Regions from separate parts of the Homo sapiens genome. Here all the other regions are linked to region 3. The links are contacts of gene promoters, found by promoter capture Hi-C in human tissues and cell types (Jung and others, 2019). All regions are on one chromosome and are shown on one strand. Each heading gives the region's core, a stretch centred on a gene start or on the middle of the fragment in contact. The rest is flanking DNA. Distances are from core to core; before and after follow the strand shown. Region 1 holds the start of BBC3 (BCL2 binding component 3). Region 2 overlaps SAE1 (SUMO1 activating enzyme subunit 1). Region 3 holds the start of AP2S1 (adaptor related protein complex 2 subunit sigma 1). Region 4 overlaps SAE1 (SUMO1 activating enzyme subunit 1). Region 5 overlaps SAE1 (SUMO1 activating enzyme subunit 1).

Region 1 (2,774 bases), core at 122-2,621, 380 kb before region 3:
CCATGCCAGGTGCCCAGGGCTGCTTCCACGACGTGGGTCCCCTGCCAGATTTGTGGTGAGTGTGGCCAGGTGTGCATGCTCCGACGTGTGTGCAGTGGGCCAGTTAGCAAGAAGCTGTCACAGGTGTGACTTTGTGACATGTGTGGGTGGTCAGTTTCTTCTATGTCTGATTTGGTTTGTGTCTCTGAATGTCAGTTTCTTTCCTTTATTTTTATTTTTAAGACGGAGTTTGCTCTTGTTGCCCAGGCTAGAGTGCAATGGCACTATCTCGGCTCACTGCAACCTCCGCCTCCCGGGTTCAAGCAGTTCTCCTGCCTCAGCCTCCCAAGTAGCTGGGATTACAGGCATGCGCCACAACGCCCGGCTAATTTTGTATTTTTAGTAGAGATGGGGTTTCATCATGTTGGTCAGGCTGGTCTCGAATTCCTGACCTCAGGCAGTCCACGCACCTTGGCCTCCCAAAGTGCTGGGATTACAGGCATGAGCCACCGTGTCGGGCGAATGTCACTTTCTGATAGTTTTAATGTGTTAGCTGTGAAATTGTGTGAGTGCATTTGTGTATGTCCCTGTGGGAGTGTGATTTGGATTTGGCCGTGTATCCAGGTATCCCTGTAACAGGTGTCTGTGTGTATGTGTGTGTCCCCTGTGCCTATCAGCAAGTTTGTGTTTCCTGATAAGCACTCCGCCTATGTCTGTGTGGTTGCACCACCGTGTGTGTGGTGTGGGTGCCTGTTCGGTAGGGTTGTTTGTGAACACAGTTTGTGGGCCCAGGTGTGATCATCAGTGTGGGTGTTTCTGCAACTGTGTGTGGCCCTGTCATTGTGTCCGTCTGCTTGTCCAGGGGACCCTGTTAGTGAGTCTGTGCATTTCCGTCTGGGTGTGTGTAAGTGTGAGCCCCATCAGTATGTGAGTGTGTGTGCTCATGCCCCTGTCCATGGTGTGGATTTGCGAGACTGTGGCCTTGTGTCTGTGAGTACATCCTCTGGGCTCTGCCTGCACGTGACTTTGTGGACCCTGGAACGCCCGTCGGTCGGTCTGTGTACGCATCGCTGGGGGTGTGGATCTGTGGGTCCCAGTCAGTGTGTGTGTCCGACTGTCCCGGTGTCTGGGCGATCTCCCCACACCCCGCCGCACAGCGCCTGGGTCCTCCTTGCCTTGGGCTAGGCCCTGCCCCGTCCCCCGCTGCAGGGAAACCCCCGGCGCGGAGGTAGGGGGGGGCGCGGCGCGCGCCTGCAAGTCCTGACTTGTCCGCGGCGGGCGGGCGGGGCCGTAGCGTCACGCGGGGGCGGGGCGTGGGACCCGCCGGGCGGGGGCGGGGCGGGGCGGGGCGGGGCGGCTTTGGAGCGGGCCCGGGATCCGCCGGGCGGCCTGAGACGCGGCGCGAGCCACATGCGAGCGGGCGCCTGGCGGCGGCGGCGGCGGCACCAGCGATCCCAGCAGCGGCCACGACGCGGACGCGCCTGCGGCCCGGGGAGCAGCAGCAGCCACAGCCACAGCAGCCGCCACTGCAGTTAGAGCGGCAGCAGCAGCGACAGCCACAGCAGCAGCCGCCGCGGAGAGCGGCGCTCGGCGGGCGCGCCCTCCTGAAGGAAGCCGCCCGCCCCCCACCGCCGCCCCCTCCGGCGTGTTCATGCCCCCGGGGTGAGTGTGCGCGCCCCGAATCCTCTCCGGCGGCGATCGGCCAGGCCGGGTGGACTCCCTGGAGGAGGTGACAGGAGTGCAGGCGGAGAGCAGTGTGGGCGCCCTGCCTCCCCACACCGCGCCTCTCCAAACCCCGCGAGGGACCCTGGGCCAGGGTCGCCGGGTGAGAGGCGGCTCGGCGTTGGGGCGCCGGTCTGGGCGCACAGGTGCCTCGGCGGTCTGGCGGGTTTGTTTACAAACAATGGGGTGCGGGCTCGGCAGCGCCCCCTGGCGGCCAGTGCGGCCCCGGGGAAGAGGGTCGACCCCAGGGGTGCCCCAGCCCCCAAAGTCCGGGAGGGGCGGGGGGGCGGCACGGAGGGGCGGCCACACCCAGGGCGCGCGCCCGCTGGGGGCGGCGACGGGGGGCGGCTCGCGGGCCGTGGAGTCTGCGGCTCCTGCGGGCGGGGGCTGCGCCCCAGCAACAGCCGGTTATTGGCCCCGCGCTCGCCTGGCGGGCGGGGCGGGCGCACGTGGCGGCGGTGGGGGGGGCTGTGACAGCGGAGGGGGGTGTCTGGGACCGCCGTGGGAGCGCGCGTGTGCGGGGTTGTGGATCTGCAGGTGTCTCGCCTGGGTGTGTGCGCGTGTCTGGCTCCGAGTTTGTGCTGGGTTCTGCAGGGAGTGGTGGTGTCGATCCAGAGGAATGTTGGGGTTTCTGACCCGTCGGGGTGTCTGCGTGAGTCCCCGCGCCTGTTTGTGTGGGGTTCTGTCTGTGGGTGCCCTGCTTGTGGGGTGGGTGGACCTGCGTGTGTTGTCGGTGAGAGTTGTCTGTGTGTGCTGTTCCGGGATGATACTGGGGGTCTGTGGTGCCTGCGTGTGCTGGGGTGTGGAGGTTGTAGTGTGTGTGTGTTGCTGGAGTGAGCTGTTTGTGTGTTTATGTGTGTGTCTTGCCCGAGCGTGCGATATGTGTGCTTGTGTCTTGCCTGTGTGTTTCTGTCTTGGCTGAGGCCGTCTCTGTATCTCCGGGGCATGTGTCTTTTGCCCAGCGTTTGTGATGCTGCGCCTGCTAAATGCAAATGTCTGTTTTCTGTCCAGGTGTCTGTGTGAGTTGTCAGGTGTGAGTGTGTGTGTGTATGTATGTGTGTGGTGGGGGGTTG
Region 2 (3,072 bases), core at 184-2,683, 290 kb before region 3:
CCCAGCTACTTCAGAGGCTGAGGCAGGAGAATCACTTGAGCCCGGGAAGCGGAGGTTGCAGTGTGCGGAGATTGCGCCATTGCACTCCAGTCTGGGCATCACAGCAAGACTCGTCTCGCAAAAACACACAAACAAACAAACAGCATGTCAGATCATTATTCCTAATTACTGGATACTTGTTAGGTTCAAGCACTATACAAAGCAGTCTGCCCACATTCTCTCTGATCCAGTGTTGTTTGTTTTTGTTTGTTTTTGTTGTTGTTGTTGTTGAAACGGAGTCTCACTCTGTTGCCAAGGCTGGAGTGCAGTGGCATGATCTCGGCTCGTTGCAAGCTCCGCCTCCCAGGTTCACGCCATTCTCTTGCCTCAGCCTCCCGAGTAGCTGGGACCACAGGCGCCCGCCACCAAGCCCTGCTAATTTTTTGTGTCTTTAGTAGTGATGGGGTTTCACCGTGCTAGCCAGGATGGTCTCGATCTCCTGACCTCATGATCTGCCCGCCTCAGCCTCCCAAAGTGCTGGGATTACAGGCATGAGCCACTGTGCCTGGCCTGATCCAGTGTTTTTTAAAGTGATGTCTGTGGACCATCTAAATCATAATCTCCTGAAACACCTTTCATTAATTTATTTCTTTTTAAGGCAAAGTCTCACTCTGTTGCCCAGGCTGGAGTGCAGTGGTGCCATCTCAGCTCACTGCAAACTCCACCTCCCAGATTCAAGCGATTCTTGTGCCTCAGCCTCCCGAGTAGCTGGGATTACAGGTGCACACCAACATGCCTGGCTAATTTTTGTATACTGAGTACAGACAGAGTTTTGCCATGTTGGCCAGGCTAGTCTCAAACTCCTGACCTCAGATGATCCGCCTGCCTCAGCCTTCCAAAGTGTTGGGATTACAGGCATGAGCCACTGCGTCCAGCCCTAAAACACCTTTTAAATGCACATACTCCTGAGCTCGCCTCAGACCTAAATGAGAATCACTAGGGGTGAAAGCTAGGGCACCACGAAGCCTCCAGGCCACTCTGCATTTTCAGTTAGTCACTCAGGTCATTTTTAGGCACAAATTGGAAAAACACTTCTCTACACCTCCTCACAAGCAACCACCAAGGGAGATATTACTAACCCCATTTTACAGGCAGGCAAGCTCAATGAGGGGGTGTGAGTCTCTACTGCTCATCCAGCTAGATGTGGTGGAGCTAGAATTCAAACCCAACAATAGCACCTTCAGTCTCCAGAGGCAATGGTTTATTAATGTTAGCCCTCCTTTCACAGCCCTTAAGGCACAAGGAGGAACTCACAAAATCTGCAGATCTTCATGCTGGAAAGGGGAGCCAGAGCAGGGGAGGAATGAGCTCACAACAGCGCACCTGTTCGTGATCCAGCATGGTCAGTCCTTTCACTCCTGCCAAGATGAGATTCTTGGCAATTTCAGCCCCAAGTCCTTTCAAGCCGACAAGAAGCACCCGAGAGGCCCGCAGCCTGTAAGACAAACATTGTTAACCTGATGATACAGAACAGTGAGCTTGCAGAATCACAGAAGAACAAAAAATACACAAATCATTTTGGTTTGCCAGGCACGGTGGCTCATGCCTGTAATCCCAGCACTTTAGGAGGCTGAGATAGGCGGATCACTTGAGGTCAGGAGTTCGAGACCAGCCTGACCAACACGGTGAAACCCCGTCTCTACTAAAATACAAAAACTAGCTGGGCGTAGTGGCAGGCGCCTGTAATCTCAGCTACTTGGGAGGCTGAGGCAGGAGAATCACTTGAAACCATGAGGCGGAGGTTGCAGTGAGCCGAGATCATGCCACTGCACTTCAACTTGGGCAACAAGAGTGAGACTCCGTCTCAAAAAAAAAAAAATCATTTTGGTTCTAACTGCATTGAGGCATCACACCTCGAATCTAGGAAAGAGACAGGCTCTAATCCATACTGCACAAAACAATTCATTCAACAAATATTTATTGAGTACCAACTATGCCAGGCATCCTTCTATGGTGTGGAAATAAGGCGGTGAATCAGACATAGTCCCTGCCCTCATGAAAAAGTAGGAGACAGATAAACAAATAGATACATAATATGTGAAAAAGTGATGAAAATCAAGTGTGACAAGAATCAAGAATGATGGAGAACGCTATTTGAGACAGAAATCATACAAGCCTTTCTGAGGAGATGCCATATGAGCAAAAATCAAAATGAAATAAAGGACAAACACACAGATATTTGGCAGCAGAACATTCCAGATAGAGAAAACAGCAAATGCAAAAGCCCTGAAGCAGGAGTGCTTGGCATGTTCTAGGGACAGGAATGACAGAGAGGCTGAAAAGTTGGAACAAGGGGCCACATCATGAAGGCTCTTACATGCAATGGAAGGATTCTGGATTTTCTTCGAGGCATGATGGAAAGCCATGGGGGTAGGAAGATGTCACAGTTAAGGTGAGGGAGGATGATGGTGGCTCAAACTAGCATGACAGCAGAAGAGGTGCTGAGAAGAGGCACTAGTTAAGTATAACACACAAGCAAAACACATGGTGGCATGAAAAGAGCATGTACACAGGAATTGCTTTTACCTTTTTTTTTTTTTTTTTAAAGACAGAGTCTCGCTCTGTTGCCCAGGCTGGAGTGCAGTGGCGTGATCTCAGCTCACTACAACCTCCGCCTCCCAGGTCCAAGCAATTCTCCTGCCTCAGCCTCCCGAGTAGCTGGGATTACAGGCGCCTACTGTCACGCCTGGCTAGTTTTTGTATTTTTGGTACAGACGGAGTTTCACCATGTTGTTCAGGCTGGTCTCGAACCCCTGACCTCAAGTGATCCACCTGCCTCAGCCTCCCAAAGTGCTGGGATTACAGGCATGAGCCACCGTGCCCAGCCTTGTTTTTAGCTTTTTAAATCTGTAAAGTGACAGAAGATGAGGCTGAAAAAAGGCAATCAGAGGTCAGGCCATCCCAAGACTTCTCTGAGGTCAGTAGGAAGCAGAATAGGTCAACTATATCTTATCTGAAATCTCTTGAACCAGAAGTATTTCAGAGTCACAATTTTTTCAGATTTCAAAAAGGAAATACAGACTTTACATCATG
Region 3 (2,965 bases), core at 105-2,604:
ATGTAGTCTCAGCTACTCGGGAGGCTGAAGTGGGAGGATCACTTGAGCCCAGCAGGTTGAGGCTTCAGTGAGCTGAGATCATGCCACTGCGCTACAGCCTGGGTGACCAAGGGAGACCCTCTTTCAGAAAAAAGCAAAAACAAAGACACACCAAAAAAACACTAAACTAACTGCTGACCTGGAGGGTTTTTTTTTTTTTTGACAGAGTTTCGCTCTTGTCATTCCAGCTAGGGTGCAATGGTGTGATCTCGGCTCACTGCAACCTCTGCCTCCCAGGTTCAAGCAATTCTCCTGCCTCAGCTTCCCGAGTTGCTGGGATTACAGGCACCTGCCATCACACCCAGCTAATTTTTATATTTTTAGTAGAAATGGTTTCACCGTGTTGGCCATGCTGGTCTCGAAGTCCTGACCTTAGGTGATCCACCCACCTCAGCTTCTCAAAGTGCTGGGATTACAAGCATGGGCCATCATGCCCCCGCCAAACTAGAGATTTTTTTTTTTTTTTGGAGTCTCTCTCTATTGCCCAGGCTGGAGTGCAGTGGCGAGATCTGGGCTCACTGCAACCTCTGCCTCCGGGCTTCAAGTGATTCTCCTGCCTCAGCCTCCCGAGTAGCTGGGACTACAGGTGCGCACCACCATGCCTGGCTAATTTTTTGTATTTTTAGTAGAGATGGGGTTTCGCCATGCTGGCTAGGCTGGTCTCGAACTCCTAACCAAGTGATCTGCCTGCCTCGGACTCCCAAAGTGCTGGGATTACAGGAGTAAGCCACCGCGCCGGGCCGGTTCAAATTTATGCTTTTAAACTGTTGTCTCCCGAGAGACACACGCAACGTATTTTAAGCAAAACACTGGCTTGGTGTTGTGGTGGCTCATGCCTGTAATCCTGGTGATTTGGAAGGCTGAGGGTCGCTTGAAGCTGAGTTCGAGATCAACCTAGGCAATATATCTAGACCCCTGTCTCTATTTTTAAAAAAATTAAAGAAATCACTGGATGAGGAATGGAAAGACATTTTCTATCTCCCCAGGACAGTTTTTTAAAATTTAAAACTACTATTCCCAGCATGCCCTTCTCCCCTGGGTGGGGGGAGGGGACCTAAGAGAACTACATTTCCCTGAATGCAACGCCTTCACCGCTGGTTCTTCAGCATCTCGGGAATTGTAGTCCTCTGTAAAGATGTTTGTCCACAAATCCCAGCATGCACTTGGGATCTGACTCGTTTGGTAGGAAAAGGACTGGCTCTGACTCTTCACCCATCTTCACCCAGGCTGGCCCCTTTGGTGAAACTACAACTCCCAGGGGTCTGTGCGCGAGAAGGCAGGCGGGTTTTTCTACCGGAAGTCCGCTCTAGCTCTGGGCCCTACAACTGCACCCTGAGCCGGAGCTGCCCAGTCGCCGCGGGACCGGGGCCGCTGGGGTCTGGACGGGGGTCGCCATGGTAACGGGGGAGCGCTACGCCGGGGACTGGCGGAGGGGGGGCCCACGCGTAAATAGCCGAGGCTGGATCGGGCGCTGACAAGTCCCTTCTCTGCCGCGGATGGTCTGGGTCAGGCGCGGGCTCTGGGGATTGGGACCGATCCAGGGCCGGGAAGGAGGGCACAGGGCGGTGATTCTGCGCGCGGGGGTTACCAGGGGTCTCGCGGCGACGGGCATTGGGGGTGGTGTTCCAAGGGGAAAGGGCTGTGCAGGTGGGAAACGTTGTAGATGGTTGGAAGCTTTGAAACGAGAGGAAACTCGTGAGACACAGTCTTGTGGGTAGCGAGAAGGCATTGGAGGTGGGGAGAGGGCGTCCGAAAGAGGAAGGCGCTCTGGAAGTGTGGCGGGAGCGCTGGGACGAGAACGCGAGACCTTGGAAAAGGGGAGGGAGGTTTTCTTGATGGGAGGAGTCTCTAGAGACAAGGATCTGATTGCAGGTGGAGAGGGGATGTTGAGACAGGGGCAGGAGACTGCCTGTGAGAGAGGGATGATCTCAAGAAGAGACCTGGCACAGGAAACCAAAAGGAGGCAACTGTAGGGAATGAAACTTAAGGGTCTGGGAAAGCGCTGTAAAAGGAGAGAGGACCTGGAGGTAAGATGGACACTCGGAAAGAATGGGGAGCAACTGAATAGGTCTTTCCAAGAGGAGAGATCTTGTGGGGTGGGGAGTAGGCTTGAAAGTGTGAGACCTGGGGAGGAATCTTTGTTGGGGCAAAGACTCAACATTGGATTTAGGAGTGCCCCTATCCCCCAGGTTGGGGCTTTGGATCTAGGAAAGGGTTCTTTGGGCTGGAAGTTGGGAAAGAAAACGAATGAGAAAGAGTGTCAGAGCGGGGGCGGAGTCTCCTCCAGGAACAGGGTCCTTGGAGGCAAAATGTGACCTTTTGAAGAAGGGAGGAAGCTTGGGAGTGGGACAAGGGATGTCACCAGTAAAAAGCCCATTGAGGCCCCAAGGAGGGGAACTGAGACTGAGAAAGTGGAGGTCAAAAGGGAACAACTCCAGAGGAGGGGGATTGGAGACAGGGAAGGTTGGGGGGCATCTAGAGGGGACAGCAGAGGCGTGAGGATGCAGAGATTCAGGACGGAGGGGACTTGAGATTCCAAATGGGAAGAAAACAGGGAGAGGTATACAAGGGAATTTGGGAGTAAGAGGCAGAGCTTTTTGTCAACTCTGTGGGTTTGCTTCTAGTTCTCCTAACTGTGTGAATATGTCTCCGGCTCTGCTCCCAGGCTGTGGCTGCCTGGTGTAGGCCCCCCAACGTCCCTTCCTGCCTGGGACCCCTGCCCTGCTAGGAAGTGGTTTTCCCTGGCTCAGCAGGAGTTCTTGGAAGGAGAGTGTAACATCCTGTTCCGGTCCAGTTTGGTTGGTTGGGGGAGGGAGGATAGAGTGTGTGGAGAATGAGGCTTAGGAAAGACTCTCAGGCTGGGGCGGTGACTCATGCCTGTAATCCCAGCACTTTGGGAGGCTGAGGCAGGCGGATCACATAAGGT
Region 4 (2,737 bases), core at 167-2,666, 320 kb before region 3:
GTTTAAGATAGCCAAGCTGGGGGAACACTGTTAGATCCCGTCTCTAAAAAAAATTATTTTAGGCCAGGCGTGGTATAGACTCTGTGTCTCTATATTTTAAAAAGGTTGGTGGTGGGCGGTGGGGGGGATGCAAATAATTTCAAACTTACAGAGGTGTCTTTCTTCCTCCCTCTCTCTCCATACCCTCCCAACCAGATATTTAAAGAACAGAGAGACAAGATGATAACAGCATAATTTGGGAAGCTAAGTGAACCAAGATCTATCAGTTACCAGGCAGTTTACAAAGCTTGCTAAGGATGCATATAGATTTGACAGATAAAAGTTCAAATTGTTGGCTGGGCGCAGTGGCTCACACCTGTAATCCCAGCACTTTGGGAGGCCAAGGCGGGCAGATCACAAGGTCAGGAGATCGAGACCATCCTGGCTAACATGGCGAAACTCCGTCTCTACTAAAAATACAAAAAAATTAGCCAGGCGTGGTGGCAGGCACCTGCAGTCCCAGCTACTCGGGAGGCTGAGGCAGGAGAATGGCGTGAACCCATCGTGCCACTACACCCCAGCCTGGGGGACAGAGCGAGACTCTCAAAAAAAAAAAAAATACAAAAATTATCTGGGCGCAGGCCGGGTGTGGTGGCTCACACCTGTAATCCTAGCATTTTGGGAGGCCAAGGCGGGTGGATCACTAGAGGTCAGGAATTGGAGACCAGCCTGGCCAACACGGTGAAACCCTGTCTCTACTAAAAATACAAAAAAATTAGCTGGGTGTGGTGGCAGGCACCTGTAATCCCAGCTGCTCAGGAAGCTGAGGGAGCAGAATCACTTGGACCCAGGAGGTGGAGGTTGCAGCGAGCCAAGGTCACACCACTACACTCCAGCCTGGGCAACAAGGTGAGACGCCGTCTCAAAAAAAAAAAAGTTCAAATTGCTAGTGAAGATTAAACAGTCATGTTTAGGTGGCTTTCCTTTAGGAGTTAAATCCATTGTTAAAGATAGTATACAAGATGTTTTCACTGCCCTCAAATCTTTTGGTCAATGGGTCTGTTTGACCTCAAAAGATAAGTCATGAAGTCGGCCTGGTGACATTTTATGCCTGCTATATAGACCACCAGGCCCTTCTCAACAAGTCTGAAAATACACATCAAGTCATTTGCAATATGGTCTGGGAATGCCATCAGAATGAGGAAACACAGTATTACCAGGCAGGTTTCAAAAATTACCAAGAGCTCAATTCGGAGTCTTTGTTGTTTGCCTGACTATAAGCAACGAACCAACTAATATGTTAGGCTACTATATGATGAAACGGAGTTGGGGGTGGAGGTTGTGTTTTAGAATCTCAGTCCCAGGCAGGTCTTGCCTGTTAGCTAACACTTTCAGGGCCTGGGGCAAGAGTATGAATGAAGACCCATATATGATGTCTACATATTTAGTTATAAATCACACTAACAAGCTATTAAATGAAGTATATTGTATTATCCTGTCTTGACAAACTCGCCTTCTTCATAACCACCTGGAAGGCCTGGATCAAATTTGAAATTTTCACACTCCTTAGGAGTTCTGTGCCAGATTAAGGCACATCGGGAAAGCTGGCCCCCATCCGTGCCCACTTCTCTTCCCATGCCTGGCTCTGTCCCACAATACTGGTGGCTCTGCACTTGAGTGTAGCTACCCAGCTCATCCTTTCTCACCAAACCCCCACGTCTCTGGCCTAAGCATTCAGACATTGTGACAAGGCCTGCACTGCACAGGCAGAACAGGGAAGCAGCCCACAAAAAGTCCTGAGAAGCTTGGGGTTGTCTGGGCAGGAGATTTCAGGGGTCCCAGGTATCCAGAGTGTGGTCTACAACTGAGGGAAGAAAGCCACAGGTGACAGCCAGAAGTGGGCACAGGACCCCAACCAGGCCAATCAGATTCTCTCTCCTGGGAACTGAAAATGTGAAAGTTGGAATGCAGAGATGCAGATACACATAATGACAATGCTCTAAAGGGAAAGGCCACAAATTCCTAATGCCTCTGGGATTGCCCAGTGGCCCTGGTCTTTACTACTCCTCTCAGATAACAGTAGTTATTCAGTGCTTCTTACACTCCACTTAACAATCCTTTTGGTTCAAACTAACTCATAACAATTAAAAACAAAACAAAACTTAACCAAGCTGCCTAATCTGTAGCAGCAGATGCAAAAGGTGGTACCTGTCTTACCCACTCCACTGGCATTACGCTTATAAAGAAAAAATACACCCGACAATGCCTTCAGGGAATCAGGAGTCTTTCAGGTGAGGCACCCACAGTGTCTGCCAGGGAGTGGCATCCACTATCCACTGGAATGAACCCCTGAAAACAGGTAACTTACATACCTCCTCTCCTCCACTTCCTCAGCTCAAGAATACCTCTGCCTAGAATGCCTGAGCCACTCTTCTCCACCATCCTTCACATACATTTCTGGGCTTAAGGACTTCAATCAACAATCTAGTTAAGACTAATAACAAGGCCGGGTGCGGTGGCTCACACCTATAATCCCAGCACTTTGGGAGGCCAAGGTGGGTAGACCACCTGAGGTCAGGAGTTCGAGACCAGCCTGGCCAACATGGTGAAACCCCGTCTCCACTAAAAATATAAAAATTAGCCGGACATGGTGGCATGTGCCTGTAATCCCAGCTACTTGGGAGGCTGAGACAGGAGAATCGCTTGAACCCAGGAGGCTGAGGTTGCAGTGAGCCGAGATCACAATCAAACCACTGTA
Region 5 (2,838 bases), core at 333-2,832, 360 kb before region 3:
GCTCAAGTGATCCTCCTGCCCCAGTCTCCCAAGCAGCTGTGACCACAGGCACAAGCCACTATGCTCAGCTATTTCTTTTTTTGTGGAGATGGGGTCTTGCTTTGTTTCCCAAGTTGGTCACGAACTCTTGGGCTGAAGTGCTTCTCCCGCCACAGCCTCCCACCATGCCTGACTGACTGCAGATTTTGAGATGGAGTGTCACACTGTTACCCGGGCTGGAGTGCAGTGGTGCGACCTCAGCTCATTGCGACCTCCGCCTCCCAGGTTCAAGTGATTCTCCTGTCTCAGCCTCCCCCAGTAGCTGAGATTACAGGCACCCGCCACCATGCCCGGCTAATTTTTGTAATTTTAGTAGACAGGGTTTCACCACGTTGGCCTGGCTGCTCTCAAACTCCTGACCTCGTGATTCGTCCGCCTCAGCCTCCCAAAATGTTGGGATTACAGGCGTGAGCCACCACGCCTGGCCTTTTTTTCTTCATTTTTATGATTAATACAAACATCATGTGGCAGTTTATGAAATTTGTAGAAACTAGACATTTCTTGCCTGGGGCTGGCAGCTTTCCCCTCGATTCCTGAGGGGTCCTCTGGGTGACTTAATCTCTGCCGTTAGAGGTACAGGGTGGAAAAGTTTGAAGCTTCCGGGACGATTCTACAATTTTGTTTTTATCAATCCAGACCCACCTGCTCCCCCTTGTGACCAAGGCTGCACATTACAGTCAAGAGTATAATTAGCTCAGAATTTAAAGACCACGTGAAATTCATGCAGCAATGTAACTGCTGACCCTGACGCCACTGACTTGCACTAAAGGTGGCGAGACACGGATCCTTTCCGAAATGCAGCCCCTGTCTCACCTCCGGCGGGAGCAGGTGATGCAGGGTTGAGGAACAGAGGCCCTTCTGTAGTGAAGACCACTTTTCTCCCCGACTAACTGCTGCAGGATCAGAATAGGAAAGAGACTGATTTATTGAAACATCACACAATTTACATAAAGAAGAAACACAAGCAAGAGTGGGGTGAACTGGAACGCACTTTGGCTGCATCAAGGCAAACCTGGTCTTCCAATAAAAGCTCTGACCCGTAGCGGCTGTGGCACTTGGGGCATATGAAGCATCACTTTTGACTTCCCTTTATTATTATAATTCTTGCCACTGAAAATAGCCACTATTTAGCTGAATTATCCATTAGACAACTGGAGCCAGAAGCTTCTACACATTCTAGAATGTGAACAATTTAACTCTTGCTGCATCACCCAGAAAAAATGGTGGCAGGAATGGTGAGGGAGAGGAGGAATCTCTTGAGTTAGAGCCTCAGGTCTGAAAAGGCAACTGGTAGGATCATCCCATTCCCTCTCAGAAGCTTCTGAAGTGGAAGAAAAACAAGCAAATCCTAAAGCAAGTAACTTTATTATCATTCCTTTAAAAAGAACCAAGGAAAATTCACAACATATGTGAAACACAAACAGCTGTGGTTTAGGAGGTAAACAAAGGACCAACATAGCCCTGAAATGCAACAGCCTCTGAGTGACTTGAGCCGCATGTGACTGGGGTTCTGTTAAAAGGGCAGGCTCCTCCCTCCTAGCCCTGAAGCCCCAGGAACCTGCCTTGAAAGACAAGCTCTCTAATACTCAACTTGCAGGGTCTCGCCCTAACATCCAAGACTTGGTAGCATCTCCTTTCTCCCAAAACCCAGCTGGAACTCAACTAATCCTAAACGAAAACTCAAGAACAGCACACCAGATGCCACCTGTTGTTTGTCAGGGTCTCAAACTCCAGAGGAAATGCATTTGCCTGTCATGGTTTTCCTCTCTAAGGGCACCTGTCTGAACTTGGAGCTGTGCTTCCACTGGTGCCTCATGGGGCCTGGGCCTACTCTCCACCTGAATTCACACTTTTCTCTATAAGGTATCAGGTGGGGAATAAGTCCAAGAAGGTGACAAGAGGCTCCCGAGCAACAGAGCTTGCTCATTCCTGGCAGGCATCTCCCACAATGCCCCAGAGGGCTGGCGAGGCCGGGACAGCATAAGGACAGAGAAAGGGCAGAGGGGTGCTTGGAAGTGCTCATCACTCAGGGGAGCTGGCAGGCCCGGGATGACAGGCAGCCTGAACAGTGCTGGAACAAAGACAGCCACCCTGCGCCCCTTGTCGAGCAGCTGCTGGTGATGGGAAGCAGCACGTCGGCACCACCTCCTTCGTTGCAGGAAATGTTTTGTATCGGGCCAATGACTTCAGTTTTCCTTGCCTGGAGATGCCTTCATGAAGGAAGGGGACAGGGAATACAGGTGGGCATGCTGCAGTTGGCATCTCTGGGGCTGCCAAATCTTGAGTTCACTTGGGGCCAAGGCACTCCACAATCCCATTCCCCTTCATGCCATCGAAGAAGAAGAAGTTGTTGTGAGGAGGGTCCCGCTGAGACAGGGCCTGGGGAGAAAAATGAAAAGAGGGTTTAGCTCAAGTGCTTTAAGAGGAATAGAGGGAAAAAAAAATTCTAAAAGCAGTCTAGGGCAGTGGTTCTTAACTGGGGTCGATTTTGCTCCCAAAGGGCTATTTGGCAATGTCTGGAGACAATTTTGATTGTCCTATCTCCTTGCTCTGTCCCTTACAAGCTGTGTGTCCATGGGGAGATTATTTAACCTCTCCAAACATTACCTTATTTTCCTAACATGAGATTAAGAAATGTATTTGCCTGGGTTAAACTATGTATCTCAAAAATGTAAAACAGGCCAGGGCCAGGCACATTCACACCTGTAATCCCAGCACTTTGGGAGGCTGAGGTGGGAGAATCACTTGAGCCCAGGAATTCAAGACCAGTCTGTGCAACATGGTGAGATCCCGTCTATA

The links. Contacts are between HindIII fragments. The study calls those that stand out against the background at their distance.
Region 1: the fragment with the promoter of BBC3 here is called in contact with the fragment with the promoter of AP2S1 in region 3 in 4 of the 25 tissues and cell types used here (adrenal gland, dorsolateral prefrontal cortex, small bowel and 1 more).
Region 2: a fragment that was not itself captured here is called in contact with the fragment with the promoter of AP2S1 in region 3 in 1 of the 25 tissues and cell types used here (dorsolateral prefrontal cortex).
Region 4: a fragment that was not itself captured here is called in contact with the fragment with the promoter of AP2S1 in region 3 in 2 of the 25 tissues and cell types used here (hippocampus and spleen).
Region 5: a contact is called between a fragment that was not itself captured here and the fragment with the promoter of AP2S1 in region 3, in 4 of the 25 tissues and cell types used here (dorsolateral prefrontal cortex, hippocampus, psoas muscle and 1 more).

Annotation. Positions count from the first base shown.
Region 1 is chr19:47,229,796-47,232,569 of GRCh38, reverse strand. BBC3 (BCL2 binding component 3) reads left to right here and starts at 1,371. Exons shown (of 4, transcript NM_014417.5): 1 at 1,371-1,641. RefSeq lists enhancers at 1-104, 1-154, 864-983 and silencers at 1,124-1,353, 1,494-2,213. The HindIII fragment of the contact is 48,720 bases long and covers 1-2,774 here.
Region 2 is chr19:47,141,896-47,144,967 of GRCh38, reverse strand. SAE1 (SUMO1 activating enzyme subunit 1) reads right to left here. Exons shown (of 9, transcript NM_005500.3): 2 at 1,363-1,474. Among named protein-coding and RNA genes, the nearest start is that of SAE1, 13 kb to the right of the region's middle. The HindIII fragment of the contact is 6,241 bases long and covers 1-3,072 here.
Region 3 is chr19:46,849,235-46,852,199 of GRCh38, reverse strand. It overlaps AP2S1 (adaptor related protein complex 2 subunit sigma 1), which reads left to right and starts at 1,354. Exons shown (of 5, transcript NM_004069.6): 1 at 1,354-1,436. The coding sequence starts at 1,434. RefSeq lists an enhancer at 1,030-1,339. The HindIII fragment of the contact is 18,087 bases long and covers 1-2,044 here.
Region 4 is chr19:47,165,136-47,167,872 of GRCh38, reverse strand. The region is part of intron 5 of SAE1 (SUMO1 activating enzyme subunit 1); the gene reads right to left. Among named protein-coding and RNA genes, the nearest start is that of SAE1, 36 kb to the right of the region's middle. The HindIII fragment of the contact is 4,260 bases long and covers 1-2,737 here.
Region 5 is chr19:47,208,739-47,211,576 of GRCh38, reverse strand. It overlaps SAE1 (SUMO1 activating enzyme subunit 1), which reads right to left. Exons shown (of 9, transcript NM_005500.3): 9 at 941-2,418. The coding sequence ends at 2,326. Among named protein-coding and RNA genes, the nearest start is that of MIR3190, 17 kb to the left of the region's middle. RefSeq lists enhancers at 551-845, 1,837-2,586. The HindIII fragment of the contact is 3,338 bases long and covers 1-2,838 here.